2 separate regions of the Homo sapiens genome follow, and region 1 is linked to region 2. Evidence: promoter capture Hi-C in human tissues and cell types (Jung and others, 2019). All regions are on one chromosome and are shown on one strand. The core of a region is centred on a gene start or on the middle of the fragment in contact, and the rest is flanking DNA. Distances in the headings are between cores, read along the strand shown. Region 1 overlaps ELL (elongation factor for RNA polymerase II). Region 2 holds the start of COPE (coat protein complex I subunit epsilon).

The links. Contacts are between HindIII fragments. The study calls those that stand out against the background at their distance.
Region 1: a fragment that was not itself captured here is called in contact with the fragment with the promoter of COPE in region 2 in 1 of the 25 tissues and cell types used here (lymphoblastoid cells).

What each region holds. Positions count from the first base shown.
Region 1 is chr19:18,484,705-18,487,522 of GRCh38, reverse strand. All of the region lies in intron 1 of ELL (elongation factor for RNA polymerase II), which reads left to right. Among named protein-coding and RNA genes, the nearest start is that of ELL, 36 kb to the left of the region's middle. RefSeq lists an enhancer at 1,471-2,056. The HindIII fragment of the contact is 6,018 bases long and covers 1-2,818 here.
Region 2 is chr19:18,917,930-18,920,795 of GRCh38, reverse strand. COPE (coat protein complex I subunit epsilon) reads left to right here and starts at 1,409. Exons shown (of 10, transcript NM_007263.4): 1 at 1,409-1,573. The coding sequence starts at 1,448. It overlaps DDX49 (DEAD-box helicase 49), which reads right to left and starts at 1,081. Exons shown (of 13, transcript NM_019070.5): 1 at 940-1,081; 2 at 93-216. The coding sequence starts at 1,054. RefSeq lists enhancers at 807-1,406, 2,309-2,866 and a silencer at 1,487-1,676. The HindIII fragment of the contact is 15,077 bases long and covers 1-2,316 here.

The sequences.
Region 1 (2,818 bases), core at 48-2,547, 430 kb after region 2:
GGTTTCATGCAGCTGCCTCTGTCAGACCCAGCAAGGTGGAGGATTTTCCTGAGACAGCACATTCAGGGATCTGTGCGCATCCTAAGCACTCAAGGTGGTTTATGGCCATGCTGAGGGCAACTGTCCCCCAAACCCAGCTGCTCCTCAAGCACGAAGGAAGACTGGGGCCTGGCTCTCGTGGCACCTCCTTGATGCCCACCTCAGGACACATATGTAACGCTTGCTCTGTCCTCACTGGGCCTGCCCATTTGAGGGGTGACCCTACTCTCTGGGGTGGTTGGATTGTCCAGATGTTCCCAGAAGCCTCTGGAGCCCTCAATGGGTTTTTATGGGGAATGCCAGCCCATATGGGCAATGGCTCAGAAGCAGTTACTCCTTTCTCAGGGGGTCTCCTGGTGGGGGGTAGCGGGGTCTGAGCAGCAGGGTCTACACGCACAGGGCCTTCTTTGTGTTCCTGAGTGATTAGGATTTACCCACTGCGTGGTGGTGGAAGCATCGGAGGTGTCAGCATGGCATGTAGCTGACGGTGGAGGCCAGCATCTTGGAAGGCTTTGGTTGGCTGCAGAGGCGCATGTGGGTGAGGTGGCAGGCAGGACCCGATGCCAACCTTTGTGGCTGGCAAGGTCACATCCCTGAGGTCCAGATGTGGCAGCTCCCAGGTTGCAGGTTCAAACTGGGAAGGGGACCTAAGAGCACCCTTGCAGTGAGTACTGGCTGGGGACCACGGGTCATGCCTTGAAGGGTGCCAGATTCTCTTGGCATCCTCTTATTTTTCTGTGATCTTTGCCTATCTTCTGGGACAGGGGTTTGGGTGCTTTGCAGAGGTTGCAGTGAGCAGACAATGAGATGAGGCGGTAAGAGCCGAGTCCGGTGCGGAGCTGTGAATCATCCAGGCGGCTGACGTGACACAGGGGCCCCGTGAAAGGGCGTGGTTTCTGCTTCAGAGACAGGCTCCCTTCTCAGAACCGCCTGGGTCTCTGAGGGCCTCAGGGGCAGCCTTGGTGAGTGTGGCCGACCACCGGAGGAGGAAGGACGGTCCTCCTGGGTCCTGAGTGTGTGCCTTGGTAGCTTGGCAAGCTGCCATCTCCTTCTGACCTGGGTCACATCCACAGTGGACACTCCCAGGACCGCACCCCCACTCTGGGTCACAGAGTACATCTTGGGTGGGTCTGTTGTACATAGACTGTTAGAAACGGGGCAGAGTGGCCTGAGGACGAGGTGCTCAGCAGCCTCTCTCTTCCTGCCCCTGTTGAGCCAGTGCCTGACACTGACCGCCCTTGGGGCCCTGAGCTAAGCTTCACACAGAAGCCCCTCCCCAGATTCCTTCCCAGGTTGCAGGGCTCCCACCCGAGGTGGAGCCCCCTCTGCAGGGCAGCCTGGGGGTGTTTGTGCTGTGGGGCTTGTTGCTTCCTGCCAAGGTCAGCAGGGGGTGGCTGTGCTCTCAGGGAGAAACAGTGGCTGAGGGGCTTCGTGATGCATCCAGGAGAGTGCCTTAACTGTTTTCATCCCCGTAGCTTGCTTTCTTTTTTTTTTTTTTGAGACAGAGTCTCGCTCTGTCGCCCAGGCTGGAGTGCAGTGGTGTGATCTTGGCTCACTGCCACCTCTGCCTCCTGGGTTCAAGCAATTCTCCTGCCTCAGCCTCCCAAATAGCTGGGACTATAGGCGTGTGCTACCACGCCCGGCTAATTTTTTGTATTTTTAGTAGAGATGGGGTTTCACCGTGTTAACCAGGATGGTCTCAATCTCCTGACCTCGTGATCCGCTCGTCTTGGCTCTCAAAGTGCTGGGATTACAGGTGTGAGCCACCGCGCCCGGCCCATCCCCGTAGCTTTCCCAGTGACTGTGAATGTGGCACGAATTTGGGCAAGGGATACCCTCTGCCTCCAACCACCAGGCCTCATGGGGCACCCTGGGCTGGGCCTGAATCTCGCCTCTAAGATGAGCCTTAGAGTTGGGGGCCAGACCTGGTCTCCCTGGTCTCCCTGGTCTCCCTGGCCCTGGGAGGAGATGGGCTCCCATAGTGGAGTGTTAGCTGTTTTCAGGGGAGAGGTGGAGGCAGCTGGAAAGCTTGGGTGCACTGGGGCTCGGCAGAAGGGGCCAGTCTGCTCTGTGGTGAGGCTGAGGACGGGTGGCCTTGGGAGTGTGGCAGAGAGGAGGCGCTCTAATAGCAGTTGAGCTTGGAAGGCCCAAAAGTGAGGTGGCCCTACAGACTGACAGGTCGAAGGCACACACATGGCCTTGTCTGCAGGGGAGTTGAGATGGAGGCCTGGAGGGGCCTCCTGGGGAGAGGAGAGCCCATGGGCCGCTTCTGCTGGGCTCCAAATAGTCCCATGGAGGTGAATGGGGTTTGGGACCTCCTAGCTGCCTGAGCAGGAAGCACAGTGGCAAGGCAGAGCTGCATTCTCAGGGACCCAACCCCCACAGAGGCCTGGCCTGGGCTCTGATGAGGGGATGGCCCATGTCAGGCCCTAGAGCGTTCTCATTCACCTCAGAAACGTCAGGAACCCAGGGCTAGGAGAGGCCCATGCTGTGCCCTGGAGGACCCCAGTGACCTAGGTCAGTCCCTTAGCTTCTTCCATTGTCAGATGTGATCAGATCATGGTCACTGTTGTCTGGGGGAAAGCAGTTGTTATCTGGCACCGCAGACCATGGGCAGAAGGCAGGTTTGGTGAGAGGGCAGTTTCTCGAAGGCCTTCCGTTCAAAATTCCTAGGTCCAGTACCTGTTGTTGGTGAGTTTTAGTGAATGATTAAAAAGAAAAACAAAACCCCACCAAACTCTTGCACTCCTCTTGAGGAGCACAGGTGGAGGCAAAAGAG
Region 2 (2,866 bases), core at 160-2,659:
ACGTGGGAAAAGGGCGCTCAGAGAGGGAAAGGTGCTTGCCCAAGAGAGCACAGCTGGTTAACCCATACCCAGGAGGCCTGCTGGGGGCTTACCTGGTGGGTGTCAGGACGAGGCAGAAGATGCCATAGGGATCCTCAGACAGCTTCTGCAAGATGGGAAGGACAAACGCTGCTGTCTTCCCACTGCCTGTCTTAGCACAGCCCAAGCAGTCTCGACCTGGGTTGGGGACAAAGCAGCATCAACACCCTCCATGTGTGGACAGCTGGGTTTCAGAGACCTTGCCCAGGACACACTGCCAGTGAGTGGCAGGCTGGACTGGAACCCATATCCATTTGACCCGAGATGCCCACAGCTTCCTACCACCTCGTTCTAACTCCGTCCAGGAGCACGTGAATTTGGGGAATCCAGAATTCCCTTCCCTCATATGCATCTTGTGCTCCCTGTTGACCCCTTCATTTGTTTATTTAATCCCTGACTTATCACATCTTAGGCTTCCTGTGGGCCTCTCTTTAATGGCGAAACTGGGTTGGGCTAGAGGAGCAGAGAGAAGACCTTCTCCTAGAGGAGCAATCACAGGACCAAGGAGTCCTGGATCTACCAGCAATTTTGACAGCCTCAACTTCTATTTGTAAAATAAAGATAGCAGTACCAGGTCTGCAGGATTTTGCGATACTATCGGACTAGTCATCCATCAAACCCTCCCTGTGCTGAGACTATGAAAATTTCAGAGATTACATCACTTGCGTACGAACACAAAGCGAGTCAGTCATGCAACCTAAATGCCAACACTGTCCAGTCGTCCTCCGGAACCCCGGATCTCCTGTAACGCCCGAGGTTGCCCCTCGCCTCGTGGGACCGGAATAAGCAAAGGTTGCGAGAAGGGAAAGGAGTCGAGAGGAGCGGAGAGGCCTCTTGGGGAAGGCCCTGGGCCATACTCACCCTCCAGGATGGCGGGGATGCAGCCGAGCTGCACGGGCGTGGGCTGCTTCAAACCCAGCTGCCGACATTGTTCCACGAGCCACGATGACAGCCCGAGCTCCGCGAAGCCTGCCATCCTTGTGGCCGCTTGTAGGGGCCCCTTGTAGGGGCCCGTGTGATCCGCGCTTCCGGCGCGCGCCGACGACGTCACGAGAAAAATCTTCCTGTTTATTGGATCTGCCTCCTGCGTGGTCCCACCCTCTCCAGCTCCCTCAGCCTATTCCCAGCCTCGACCGCATCCTTATCATGTTTCCCCGGATCCCATTGGCTTGCAGAAACACACTACAATTCCCGAGATGCTCTCCGTGACGCACTTACGCCTTCCGCCCCCTTGCATATTATTGTGGAGCTTCCCATTGGCTTACTTCGCCGCCGCTCGGAAAAAGTAAACTACATTTCCTAGCGTGCCCGTGTCTTGCTTCCGGCTGACGTGTCTTTCAGGAAGAGGAGCTGGTGAGAAGACAGCGAAATGGCGCCTCCGGCCCCCGGCCCGGCCTCCGGCGGCTCCGGGGAGGTAGACGAGCTGTTCGACGTAAAGAACGCCTTCTACATCGGCAGCTACCAGCAGTGCATAAACGAGGCGCAGCGGGTGAAGGTGCGGCCGCGCAGGGGCGCGGGGACGCTGGGGGCGGAGGCGGAGGACGCTTTCTGGTGGCCGCGAGCCGCGTTCTGCGTCTAAAAACTTTCTCTTTTCTTCTCGCGTTTTTTGGGCCACCTCTTCCACAGTTCAGTGAGGAGTAGTCACTGTCCCGTGACAGAACCCAGAGCAGTAACAGTTTACGGTACTGCTCACTCGTACAGCGTTCTCTCTGCGCCCTTGAAAGTGTTTTGAGTAAGGGAGGTGTTTATGCCACTGTAGTGACAATAAGCCTATTTTGTTCAGCCATACCTTCAGTTCCCGTGAGATGGAGACTGTTGCTTATCCTCATTTTACGGATGAGAACCCTAAAGTTCAGAGAAGGACGTTTCCCTGCCCAACCAGCCTGGTTATTTCTCCCAGAGCTTACCCATTCATTCATTCATTCTTCATTGAGCACTTTTTTGGACGGGCACTGTATTCCGCTGGACTCAGAATGATAAACACAGTTTCCCAGCGCAGTGGCTCAAACGCCTGTAATTCTGGCGCTTTGGGAGGCCGAGGCGGGCAGATCGCATGCGCCCAGGAGTTCGAGACCAGCTTGGGCAACGTGGAGAAACCATGAGTCTACCAAAAATTAGCCGGGCGTGGTGGCGGGCACTTGTAATCTCAGCTACCGGGAGGCTGAGACAGGAGAATCGCTTCAACCCGGAGGCCGAGGTTGCAGTGAACCGAGATCGCGCCACTGCACTCCAGCCTGGGTGACAAAGTTGTAAGAATTAAAGAGGAAAGAAACACGAAAGGTGGCTTGCCAGTCAAGACAGGTTTATTTTAGAGAAAACAAACCTGAGAGGCGCCTTCTGGCGGAGTTGGGTCAGAGTAACACTCTTTTACAGACTAAGAGTTTTTAAGGATTCAGGGTCGGAGAGTTTATCAGAGGCTTGAACTGCTTCTGTGTCTCTTCGTTGTGCTTATCTGGGAGGGAGAGTTGTGTGTCTGTTCCCATACATCTTTCTTTTTTCTTTTCTTTTCTTTTCTTTTTTTTTTTTTTTTGAGATGGAGACTCGCGCTGTTGCCAGGCTGGAGTGCAGTGGCGTGATCTCGGCTCACTGCAACCTCCGCCCCCAGGTTCAAGCAATTCTCCTTTCTCAGCCTCTCGAGTAGCTGGGATTACAGGCGCGCGCCACCATGGCCCGGCTAATTTTTGTATTTTTAGTAGAGACGGGGTTTCACCATGTTGGCCAGGATGGTCTCCATCTCTTGACCTTGTGATCTGCCCGCCTTGGCCTACCAAAGTGTTGGGATTACAGG